2 separate regions of the Homo sapiens genome follow, and region 1 is linked to region 2. Evidence: promoter capture Hi-C in 16 types of primary human blood cells and fetal thymus (Javierre and others, 2016). All regions are on one chromosome and are shown on one strand. Each heading gives the region's core, a stretch centred on a gene start or on the middle of the fragment in contact. The rest is flanking DNA. Distances are from core to core; before and after follow the strand shown.

What was found. The method cuts DNA at HindIII sites, captures the fragments that hold promoters and counts their contacts. A CHiCAGO score of 5 or more calls a contact.
Region 1: a contact is called between a fragment that was not itself captured here and the fragment with the promoter of LINC01827 in region 2, in 8 of 17 cell types (M2 macrophages, M1 macrophages, M0 macrophages and 5 more). The highest score is 10.4, in M2 macrophages.

The regions. Positions count from the first base shown.
Region 1 is chr2:195,645,712-195,652,598 of GRCh38, forward strand. It overlaps a transcript of SLC39A10 not described here. Among named protein-coding and RNA genes, the nearest start is that of SLC39A10, 8.1 kb to the right of the region's middle. RefSeq lists an enhancer at 4,572-4,651. The HindIII fragment of the contact is 3,387 bases long and covers 161-3,547 here.
Region 2 is chr2:195,571,770-195,578,226 of GRCh38, forward strand. LINC01827 (long intergenic non-protein coding RNA 1827) reads right to left here and starts at 2,724. Exons shown (of 2, transcript NR_187191.1): 1 at 2,555-2,724. The HindIII fragment of the contact is 2,770 bases long and covers 1,582-4,351 here.

The sequences.
Region 1 (6,887 bases), core at 604-3,103, 73 kb after region 2:
TTCACTTAGCATAGTGTTTTTAAGGTTAATTCATGTTGTAGCATGTATTTCTATTTGAATTCCAAAGCTAATGTTAATGTATTACCTTGATCAAAAAAATAAAAATTAAAATAAACAATATCCTGCAAAGTATTGATCATTCTACAGGTACTGAAAATGAAGCTTAATGATCACGTTAAAGCCACAGGAAATAAGTTAGAAGAGATGGTGTTCAGATTTGATTCTATCTTTTTTTCTTTGTTTGTTTTTGAGATGGGGTCTCACTCTGTGTCAAAAAAAAGGCTGGAGTGCAGTGGCACAATCACAGCTCACTGCAGCCTTGACCTCCAGGCTCAAGCGATCTTCCCACCTCAGCTCCTGAGTAGCTGGGACTACAAGCGTGCACCACCATGCCTGGCTAATTTTTGAATTTTTTGTAGAGATGGGATTTTGCCGTGTTGCCCAGGCTGGTCTTGAACTCCTGGCCTCAAGCGATCCGCCCACCTCAGCCTCCCAAAGTGTTGGGATTACAGATGTGAGCCAGCACACTCAACAATTCTTTTTATTTTATTTTTTTATTTACTTAAGCGTACCCTGATGTGCCCAGCAATTCTATCTTCTTGAAACTTCTGCAGTTCAACAATTTCTCTTTATCCACTGTCACTTCTCACATGGGTTGTCCCTATCACAGTTTCCTAATTGTTTTAATTTCCTATTGCTGCTATAACACATTACCACATATGTGGTGGCTTCAAACAATACAAATTTGTTATGCAGCTCTGTAGGTCTGACACGAATTTCACTGAGCCAAAACCAGGGTGTCAGCAGGGCCACGTTTCTTCTGGAGGCTCTAAGGAGGAATCCATTTCCTGTTTTTCTAGCTTTAGAGGCTACCCACATTCCTTAGTTCAGGGGTCCTCACCCCCCACCCACCTCCCCCCACCACCAACCCCCTACAGACCCGGTAAGGCCGGTAGGGCCTTTTAGGAACACTGCTGCACAGCAGGAGGTGAGCGGAGGGTGAGCGAGCATTACCGCCTGAGCTTTGCCTCCTATCAGATAAGCAGCAGCATTAAATTCTCATGGGAGCACGAACCCTATGGTGAACCGTGCCTGTGAGGGATCTAGGTTGCACACTGCTTATGAGAATCTAATGCCTGATCATCTCAGGTGGAGCAGTTTCATCCCGAAGCCATCCCCCTGCCATCTGTGGAAAAAGTGTCTTCTAGGAGACTGGTCCCTGGCGCCAAAAAGGTTGGGGGACTGCTGCCTTAGCTTGTGGCTCCCTTTATTCAGCATCATTTTATCTCTCTGAGTGTCATTTCTCTTTATCTTCCTCTGACTCTCCTCTTCTTCCCTCTTCCATTTTTAGAGTCTCTTATGATTAAATCGGGCCCATTTGGATAATTGAAACTAATTTGTTCATTTCGAGGTCAGTTGGTTAGCAACTTTAATTCCATCTCCAGCCTTTGTACCCTTTGCCATGTAATCTACATGTTCATAGGATCCAGGGATTAGCATGTGGATGTCTTTATGGGGGAGGCATTATTCTGTCTACCACCCTAGTCGTATGATAATATGATTTCCCTTCTTGCCCATGATCACGTCACTTGCCCACCGAAAATTCTTCAATGGCCCTTGTTGCCCTCAGGGTAGCATTCAGACTCATTCAGGCTCCTTAATGTGATACACAAAGGCCTTCCTTACCAGTCCTGTCTCATCTCTCCCAACTCCCCATGCCCAAAACACACAACAAGATTGTGTGTTTCACTTCCCCAAACTGAAAACCAGGCATTCACTCATCTCATTCATCTGCTTGTTTGCTCTTTTCCCAGCCTTTTATCTGACTCTACTACTCATCCATAAGTCAGACTTCAGATGTGACTTCCTTTGGGAAGCCTGAGTGTATCCCCAAATTTTGGCCTTTGCTACCGTTGCAAGCTATACCTATATCTAACATAGCACTTGCCATGCGATACTGTAATTATCTCTTTAATTACCATCCACCACCACCACCACCACCACCACCACGAGACTACAGGCAACTTAAGGGTCAGCCTCTCATTTGTTCACCCTTGTATCAGTTACTTATCAGAGTGGCTTGCACACAATAAAAACACAAACTTTCTATTTTTTAAAGCAACCCTATTAACTGAGAAGCACAAACTTTTGCTTAAAGATATATCCCTTAATATTTATGTGTCTCTTTTTCCAAGACAGACTTATAGAGGATGTAGAGTCATATAAATCTAAGGACTGAAAAGTAAATGTACCTTTAATCCTCCAAATGGATTTCATTTAATTAATGAATTAATTTACTGAGGCAAGGTCCCACTCTGTCACCCAGGCTAGAATGCAGTGACAAAATCATGGCTCACTGCAGCCTCCACCTCCTGGGCTCCAGTGATCCTCTTGCTTCACCCTCCCGAGTAGCTGGGACCACAGGTGTGTGACACCATGCCCATCTAATTTTTAAAACAATTTTTTTGTACAGAAGAGGTCTCGCTATGTTGTCCAGACTGGTCTTGAACTCCTGGGCTCAAGCGATCCTCCCATCTTGGCCTCCGCCTATGCTGGAATTATAGGTGAGCTACTGAACTCGGCCCTTATCTGGCTTCTTATATCAAGACTGTGCACAGGTCACTATTTTTGCAAGAATTTCTATACCACTTCCTCTGAAAATGTTGGTAATTTAAAAAAGAAACAGCCAGACATGGTGGCTCACACCTGTAATTCCAACACTTTGGGAGATGGAGGTCGGCCAATTGCTTGAGCCCAGGAGTTCAAGACCAGTCTGGGCAACATGATGAAACTGTGTCTCTACAAAAAATTCAAAAATTAGCCAGGCATGGTGGTGCATGCCTGTGGTCCCAGCTACTCAGGAGGCTGAGGTGGGAGGATCACTTGAGTTTGGGAGGTCGAGGCTGCAGTGAGCCAAGAGATAGTGACACTGTATACTCCAGCCTGGGCAACAGAGCTAGACCCTATCTCAAAAAAACAAAAATAAAAATAGGTTGGATAATGTAAGAGTTAAGAACAGAGACTCTAGAGCCAGCCTGGGATCCTGGCTCTGCCATATTTTATGTAACCATCTCAGTTTTCTTCATTTGTGAAATAGACACAGTAATATCCACCTCAGAGGGTTACTGTAGAATTAAATGAGTTCCATTTAGAGCATTTAAATGGTGCCTGGCACATTTTAAATAATACCGCTTCATGTGGTTAGGGTGGGAAGGAAGATTGTAAAACATAAATGCTTAGAGAAAGCAACTGTCGTTGTAATTAAAATGAAACTTGGGTGTGATGAAATCATTGGAGGCTGTAGGTGAGATCATCTATGAGAAAGAAAAAGCCAAGCATGATGGGTCGCTAACCACCGGGCACTGCCAGAAGCATTTCTCATGAAACATTAGGAAGTTTCCAAATCTTCTCTAAAGACGTGTGCTTGAAAAAACAAAACAAAAAAAGAATGACAACAACAACAAAAAGATATGTGCTGGAAAGAAGAGATGGGATTCTATGAAGAATGTGAAAGTGGCTTATTGTATGAAATACAAAATATAATCCAAGCTTTACCTAGAAATAGTACAAGAAAAATTCAGAAATCCCTGCAAGCTATTCTTGTTTTGACAATTCATTTCTTGCCTTCCCTAATATTTAGAATTTTGCTGCATTGTTGCCATCAAATATTTTTTAAGAAATAAAGGTAAGCAGTATTTGCTAAGACAGAACACGTGTGTCTTGATTTTAGAAGATGTACTTGATTATTTTCATAAATGTCAGGTGTGAAATGGGTCACCTTATTAATTAAAGCCTTAGGCAAAATTTGAAATTTGATCTTATGTGATGACATTTTAAAATGGATGTATTAATTTCAACCAGTTTAACAAATGAGCCTTTTTAAAAAAATTTACGTGGTAACTTATTGTTAATTCATTTCCATGTTGACAGTTTTCCTTAAATTGAAGTGTAATCACCCACAAATACTTTTGAAGTTTGCCATATTCATGTGGATATTTATGCCACTTTTTTCTAATTCCTTTGGACTAGGAGTTATGTTCTGAAAAGTCAATTTCTGCTGTGCCAGTAGAGTTGCAAACGACCTAAAATGGCTACCTACCACACCTGTTTTTCTTCATCTTACTACTCTGTGAGTGAATGAGCTTGCCTGGAAGCAAGATTGAGAAGTTAGCAATTTGTCTACAGTTTTTCTTCTTTCCCTTTGTACCACACTACCCTCAAGAATCTAGACAACCGTGTTTTCTCTTTTCTTAGAACTTCCTCTTTAGAAAAAACCTAAGGAAAATATATTCTCACGGAGGTATAAATAGGTAATACAACTGTAGCAATTTCCCTCCAAGTTCTTCCGGTTTCAAGGCCCAGGGATGAAATGCTAACTGTGTAATTGTAGGAATTGGCAAGTACACTAAAAATACAAAAAATTAGCCGGGCATGGTGGTGGGCAGCTGTAGTCCCAGCTACTCAGGCGGCTGAGGTGGGAAAATGGCATGAACCCGGGAGGCGGAGCTTGCAGTGAGCCGAGATCCCACCACTGCACTCCAGCCTGGGCGACAGAGATGGACTCCTCCTCCAAAAAAAAAAAAAAAAGAAAAGAAAAAAATTGGTTTAGGGTGAGAAGTCTTCATGGCACTATGACGTGGGCAAATGTGTGGTCAACGTGTTAGTCTGGCTCTGGCTCTGAGTTTTTTGCTTTTGTTCATTCTTCTGAGTAGGTCTTTCTCTTTCTCTTGAGCCTGGTCTCATCTGTATTTTCGAAAGGACTTGCCATGGTCAATCAGAGGCTTTAAGCTTCTCTGTTATTGTCTGTCTTCCAGGAGAGATGCCTAATGCTAACACCTTTTATTTGTATTGCCATGGCAATACAAACCCTTAAACTAAGGGTTCTGGTTATTCTTAGGTTAGGATCATGTAGGCAGATCATAAAAAAGTTAATTTTTCTCCCCTGGGTGAGAAGTTGCTTAAATTTTTGTGTCAATTGTTTCATTTCTCCAATCTATTTTTGTCTCTGCAAATAGCCTGAAACTCGGTTTTATTGCACAAGCCTACCAATTCAGAATGATCTCAGGCGCATCAGACAAGTTTGTCCCTCACCAGAGTTGTATTGGTTTATTTCTCCCTGCCTTCGTGTGCCCATCTCAAAATGGTGGGGTCTGTGGAAGAGGATGGCCTTCCCAGATATGCAATTTTTGCTCTTTAGAAAGGAGTTTAAAAAAAAAAAAAATCCCAGCTACTGTGGGTGGGGAAGGCGAAGGAGGTGGGAGGTGGAAGGATTTTGCTTGAGCCTGGGAGGTTGAGTCTGCAGTGAGCTGTGATTGCACCACTGCACTCCAGCCTGGGAGACAGAATGAGACCCCGTCTCAAAAAAAATGTTTTTTTTTTTTTATTTAGAAAGGAGTATAAGGGGAGCTGTGCTCCTCTAGTGAGAACTCCCATGGACTTCTAAAGGCCCATTTATCCTACCTTAGTCTTTAGAGCTTGCCAAAAATGAGATGGTAGAGCCATAATTTCTCAGGGATCAGAAAAAGACTACCGCATGGGTCCAACTTCCCCATTCTGACAGTGTGTTTGCCGTGTTAGATGTTACACAGTGCCACAGGTCTCGAATAATGGAAATAATTTGTATCCTTTAAATATCTCTGGCATCAGTTTTAGAGCTGGAGCTTCAATCCCCAGGCTGAAATAGTCTCTAAAAATGAATAGTAGCTATTAAGTTTGAGGCCTCAGTTTGGAATTTTACCTACATATTGCTGACATCTTCCTTTCCCAAATCTCTTTTTTTTTGAGACAGAGTCTTGCCATGTCACCCAGGCTGGAAAGCAGGGGCATGATCTCGGCTCACTGCAACCTCCATCTCCCAGGATCAAGCGATTCTCCTGCTTCAGCCTCCCAAGTAGCTAGGATTGCAGGCGCTTGCCATCACATCCAGCTAATTTTTGTATTTTTAGTAGAGATGGGTTTTCATCATGTTGGCCAGGCTGGTCTTGAACTCCTGACCTCAAGTGATCCACCCGCTTTGGCCTCCCAAAGTGCTGGGATTACAGGTGTGAGCCACTGCCCATGGCCCCCTTTTCCAAATCTTAACACCTGTTCTGGTACTTAATATCCCCACACCCCACCACATTGGTACAGCAATATAATTTAGTCTTCCTTGTACTCCTAATGACTTCATCAATGAAAAGAGTCAAATTCTGTAACTTATTTGAAGATATTTTTTTCTGAGCCAAACATGAGTGACCAATGGCCTGTCACACAACCCCAGGAAATCCTTAGAATGTGTGCCCAAGGTGGTAGTTAAGCAACAGCTTGGTTTTATACATTTTAGGGAGATATAAGACACAATACATGTACGATGTACATTGGTTTGGTCCAGAAAAGTGGGACAACTGGAAGCAGGGGCTGGTTCCAGGTCTTAGGTGGATTCGAAGATTTTCTGATTGGCAGTTGGTTGAAATAGTTTATCTACAGACCTGGAATCAATATGAGGGAGTGTCTGGGTTAAGATAAGGGGCTATGTAGAACTTGGGGATAAGTAGTCAGAAAAGAAATAAAATTTAGCCTAGGCGTGGTGGCTAACACTTGTAATACCAGCACTTTGGGACGCCGAGGCGGGTGAATCACTTGAGGTCAGGAGTTTGAAAACAGCCTGGCCAACATGGAGAAAACCCGTCTCTCCCCCAAAATACAAAAACTAGCTGGGCGTGGTGGTAGGTGCCTGTAATCCCAGCTACTCGGGAGGCTGAGGCAGGAGAATCGCCTGAGCCTGGGAGGCAGAGGTTGCAGTGAGCCGAGATCTCGCCACTGCACTCCAGCCTGGGCAACAGAGTGAGACTCATCTTAAAAAAAAAAAAAAAAAGAAAGAAAATTTTAAAAAAAAGATAAGGGGTTAT
Region 2 (6,457 bases), core at 1,474-3,973:
TGATAGAACTAATGATACCCACCAGTCAGGATTGTCAGGATTATGTGAGGTAATGTACCAAAGTCCCAGATACATACCTTAATTTTGACTATGGGAAAATATAATCTTTTTTTTTTTCTTAAATCTATCTGCATTCTAAATGTAGAGGACACAGTTTCATTAAGGTAGGAATGAGGATAACTATACAAAATATATAATAAGGAAAAATATGGTATGATGTCTGTTTGCATAGCACTATCAGTTTATTTTTCCCAGCCTTGATGAAGTTGATTGGCTTCTTCCTTAATCACTTTCATTTCATTAATAGTTGTCTTTCATCTTCTCCAAGAGCACATCACACAACCTGAAAGTCAGAGGTCTCCCTGAAATCCACTACTTTCGAAGATTGTATGCTGATCATATTACTGAGAGAGTTCAAGAGGAGGGAACTTATCACTTAATAAATTTCGGTGATGCAACTAATGTGTCCTAGGCATTCTGCTAGGTGGTACAGAACCAAGCAAAACACAATGGACAAGATGGTACTAACGACTGTTCTACTTAGGGAGCCAGGAAATTCAAGGGATTGCTTTGTCTCCTAAGACCTAGAAAATCATTAATCTCACTCAAATTTAAGAGTTCAGTTACAAGTAAAAGGAAATCCAATCAAACAACTTAAACAACCAAGGGAATGTATTGGCCGATGTGACTGACGAACCAAAAACTGGGCAGATTTTAACAAAACCAGTAGTCCCATAATGTCAATAAAGACCTGCTTTCTTTCCACTGCTGCACTCTATCTCCTGTGAAGCAGTTTTCGTCTTAGGCTGCGTCTTCTAGTGTAGTCAGAAGCAACCACAGTTACATGCTTCCTAGTTCATATCTACAAAAGCAGAGAGTACCTTTGAAGCAACTCCCATGGATCAGACAAGAATTTTCTTTTCCAAAAACTTCAGCAATTGGCTGGCAGTGGTGACTCAGGCCTTTCACCCTAGCACTTTGGGAGGCTGAAGTGGGCAGAACACTTGAGCTCAGGAGTTAGAGACCAACCTGGGCAACATAGGGAGACCCTATATCTACAAAACATCAAAAAAATTAGCCGGGTATGGTGGCCCCCTCCTGTGGTCCCAACTTCTTGGGAGGCTGAGGTGGGAGGACCACTTGAGCCCAGGAGATCGAAACTGCACTGAGCCATGATCCCGCCATTGCCCGTCAGCCTGGATGACAGAGCGAAACCCAGTCTCAAAAACAAAAAAAAAAAAACAAACAAAACTCCAGCAACTGTCTCCTTTATTGTCCATTAATGGTTCACATGCCTACTCTGAATCAGTCACATGGACAGAATGATGTAATAATGCTGATTAGTGTAAGACAAACAGGTTCTCTGGAGGTGGGCAATCCAGCCCAAGCCATGCTCAAAAACATACTGTTTGTTTAAAGTAGAAAAGGCTCTGGATGGTGAGAAGGGATTTTACAAATGTCAGTGTAAGCTCTTGCTACTGCTTCTCTCTGCATGTCTATTCTAGGTTGCTCTTGTAGGCTGGCTCCACATGTAAGGATTTTACTTTGGGTTCCCTCATAATTTAATGTTCATGTAGCTGAAGCTTGCCATAGAGGTCTCACACTAAATACCTGTGACCCGACAACTCCAATTCTCATCACTTAACTATGACTTTTGTGTCTCAGTGAAATTTTTTCAAACAATATCATCTAGTTGGCTTGGCCTAACCTATGGATCGACTCTCAGAGTAGGTCTCCCCACCCTGGTCCAATCATCATAACCAGGGAGTAGGGTCATATGATATAAACATAGATGACTAGGCCCATCTGTTCAGCAGGGGAACAGATTCTTTTAGAAGGGAATGTGGGCAGAAAGGCAATTATATACATCTCTAACCAGAAAAATCCCAGGGGTGGAAATGATAGGAAGAAATGGCACCAAATTTAAAGATAAAAGAAAAGCTGCCACTGTAATTCAAAATTAGACAATGTAACTGATCATAGACTTTTGCTATAATCGCTATTTTGGCCTTATAATCTCTGAAATTTACTTTACAGAACAGTGAAACACTTCTTTGAGGAGAAACATTATAGAAGAAAACAATCTTTGATCTAGAAACCTAAAAAGATATTTATGCTCATTATATTCCAGGTGCTGAAGAGTGTCAAAGCACAGCTAAATATTATGCCATTTGTGCAGACTCGGAATGAGTTTAAGCACTGAAAGAGCTACCAGAATACCCCAGCAGAACATCTCAAAACAAAGCATTATTTCTCTCTTAAGAAAATTACCAGGCTGGGCACGGTGGCTCACACCTGTAATCTCAGCACTTTGGGAGGACGAGGCAGGCGGATCTACCTGAGGTGAGGGGTTCGAGACCAGCCTGCCCAATGCGGTGAAACCCCGTCTCTACTAAAACTAAAAAAAATAGCTGGGTGTGGTGGCGGGCACCTGTAATCCCAGCTACTCAGGAGGCTGAAGCAGGGAGAATTGCAGTGAGCCGGATTGCACCACTGCACTCCAGCCTGGGCGACAGAGTGAGACTCCATCTCAAAAAAAAAAAGGGAAAATTACCTATTTGCACTTCTTGATTTCCAGGAAGGTGTTAGAGATCTTCATCCCATCCCCAGCCCAAGTCTAGACGTGTTCACCGGAAAGGAAGAAGTTTTTGAGTTCTCAGCAGTAGCTGTGGCTCTAAGGAAAGCAGTGTTGTATGGGTATTAGAGTAGTACAACCAAAGCTCTGCTGGAACAAAAGAGGAACACAGAAAGCTAGGAATGACAAGTGTTTTTCTTCCCTCTCATATGATTCAGTCAGGCTGTCTTTGACCTACATAGCCATCTGACTGGCCACTGTTTTCTTTTCTTTCTTTTCTTTTTTTAGAGATGGGATCTTGCTGTGTTGCCCAGGCTGGACTGAAACTCCTGGGTTCCAGTGATGCTCTCTCCTGAGCTTCCCGAGCAGCTGGGACCACAGGCATACACCACTGCACTGCACTGCACTTGATTAGGTATATTTTAAAATGTAAAATAATAGTGAAAGGATTCTCCCTAGTCCCCATAAACCTGGGAATGGATCGAGGTGAGGACACCAAAACTTTCCCCTGAGACATGGAAATTGCACTGAATGTTTCTTGATGGTTCTAATGCATTAAGAATTAAGAGCTCTTTGCCTAGATTACCCCCAAAATATTAAAAATAACAAAACAAAGTAGAACTAAGGAAAAATATAAGACACATAGAGAAAATGTTTTTCAAAAAATGTTATTTGACCTATGGCTAATTCTGATTTTAAAAGCAGTTAAACAAACGAAACACAACCTAGTGATGCTTACGACTGAAGAAACCATTGATACCTGAAAGAAGGGAAGACTTTAGATATAAAGGCAGAGTGGAATTTTTTTAACCAACATTTCATGCAGCAGCTCCACATGGCCTTCCCATGTCTCAATAGCTTTGATTTGTGGAAATAATGGTTATGCAATTTCCACATATTGTGCTCCAATCACAGCATGTAAGCAACAATAAAAAGAAAACAACTAAATGTACTTGAAGCTGGAGATTTTGATAAGGTTTTCTTTTCACTTCACAAAGTTTGTTAACTGGATATTTTTCTAAGGCAACTGAAATATTCCTGCTGAGTTTCAGACAGATATATGTAAAAGCAGCAAAGTGTCTGATTTTCTTAAATGTATCTATGGCAGCAACACTAGTTAATTTAGTTGTGAAAAAATAACCAAAAAGAAACTATCGGACTATAAGAATTCCACAGTTGGCAGACTGTTGGTATTTCTCTTTCTCTTTAAATATATATATAAATATATCTATAAATATATATAAATATCTATAAATATATCTATAAATATATATATTAAATATATATATGCCATCTGTTTACAAAAGATGAGAAATGTTGGAGAAAATTATTTCCCTTAGGGTATAATGTTATGGCCATTCAGAGAGAGGTCTCTGGTATTTTCAAGGAGAATTTGGTACAAGAACAAGACAGCATCAGGTCTGCACAGTCATTGGCTGCAAAAAACAAAGATGATTTCCTTTAGTCCCTGTTTTAGTTTTACTCTTTGAACTTCCAAGTTTATTTATTGTTATTATTTTTAATGTGGCACAGATTGTTTTAAGAATCAACTTGGTTCCCTTTTTTGAAGTCCTTTTTTTTTTTTAATTTGTTGAGACTGGTTTCTAAAGTGCTCCACCTCCACCACCTGTCATTAGATGGGGGGCTGCGGCTTGGAGAACACTCACAGTTCTGAGTTCAGCTGTGGACGGAATAATGAAGGGCAGCTGCAGAAGGAGGTAGAGCTGCAGATTCAGAGGTAGGTGGCAATACAGTATTTCAAAATAAAAACTACCAAGCTTCAGATCGGTGATAAATTGTCATGCACTAAGTGTACCTGGAGAAATAAAACTAATCTCTATCCATTTTAATTCTCTCAGAAGGACTTTCCCTCTTACATATAAAATCCTGGGAATTTCCCCCTCCTCATCCAGTCATTTCTATGTGATTAATCATACATTGGTTACTCGTCACTAGATGGCATTGTGCAATGTTTCTTGACAGCAGTAACTAAATTGGTAAAGTTACAGCTTGGGCTATTTTTTGGTATTTTCTTCTTTGGGATGGATCTAGAGGATCTAAATCTGATCCTGGATATGTCATCATCTTTATATGTTTTATGAGTATGGCTTTGTAAAATTTGTGTCTTCTTTGAGAGTCTTTTTCTTAGTATAACTTCCTAGTACATGAACCCAATAATTATCAGTCTTAAATGAACAATAAATAAATTCTTCCTCTAATTTTCCTCCAAGTCACATGTACAAATGTTTACTTACATTTGCAGAAATAAAATAAAGCTCAACATATCTAGGATCTCTACCTAGGCATGAAGGTAGAAAAAAATATATATGGAAATTTGCTTTATCTAAGCATGGCCAGTTGAAATCAAGCTGTGGATAAGCCATGAAGATAGAGTAATATAAAAAGATCAGTTAATGCTTTCATAAACCTGTGAAATTCACAAAGGAAATATAATAGCCATAAGTAAGTAAAACTGATATAAATGTGTTATGAATTAGTAGTCACAGTCTTGTACTTTTCCAGACATGACAAATAATTGTGACCATTTTTATTTGTTGTGTTCCCATAAACCTTATGGTGCTGAAGAATAAATTCTAATTTCTGTGCTATCAATAAAATAGGACACATTTTCCCAAGTTATAATTATGACTTAGTGACCTGAGAATTTGTAAATAACAATGGATGATAAAATTAATTATTTGGAATGAAGCTAACAAGATAAATGACAGATAGATAGATAGATAGATAGATAGATAGATAGATAGATAGATATGGTAGATAAATGCATAGCAGCTAATACAGCATTTGACATTCTGAAGTTATATAAAAACTATAATATTGATCTGCTGTTTTCATTTACTTATTTTAAAATCTGAAAAATTGTTTCTCTTTTTTAATTTGCCTTTTTATTTTAATTTCATTCATTTGTCCATTCAAAAACATTAACCAAACACCAGCTTTGGATCTGTTCAATACCAGAGATGCAAAGATAAGTAGGATACCAAATGTGCCCTCAAAAAGCCTTTAGTCTTTTATGTTAAGCATCCATAAAGTAACTATCAGAATCATTCATGAAAGAAGGAGCAAGGGGGAATGAAAGAGGGAGATATGTAATGCAAAGAGTCTTAGAAAAGGAAACAAGATGCAGGCCGGGTGTGGTGGCTCACACCTGCAATCCCAGCACTTTAGGAGGCCGAGACAGGAGGATTGCTTGAGTCCAGGAGTTTGAAACCAGTGTGGGCAACATAGCGAGATCCTGTCTCAAAAAAAGAACAAAGCAAAAAAGATGCATGGTTTATGGTCACAGCTCTAACAGTAACTCATGCTATAACCCTGGACCTCCCTCATTGTATGTTCAAATGAAATAATTTTATAGAAAAGTGCTTTGTAAACTGTAAAATGTTTTTAAAATACTAGTTTTTAAAGCTTTTTCATATAAGAAACCCACTTTTTTTTTAATAGAACTTTGATCCTTCAGGCCAATGCAGCTCCCTTTTAATTTTCTGTTTCAAAATTCCAGCTGCATACATAAAATCCATTAAATTTCCAACTCATCTTGTAAAACAAAAATTGGACAGAAGCACCACAATCTTGGAGAGAGAAAAGGCAAAAGGCTAACCTAAATGCCCAGTGATCACATCAAACTCTAAAACACTGAGATGCTCTGATTGTCCCCTTTCCCCCTTCTACTCTGCTGATTCTTGCTCTTTCTCTTAGTTTCTGCAGGTGAGAAACGTAATTTCAAGTAAATCTGTTACAATAAAACATGACAGATGAAAGACCCCCATTCTGGTCCTAGGCCATTACCTCTTCCACGCTTTGATGGTAGAAAAAAAACAAAAAGCGTTTGAATGGATTGCTAGATTAGGAGATTCAGTACAA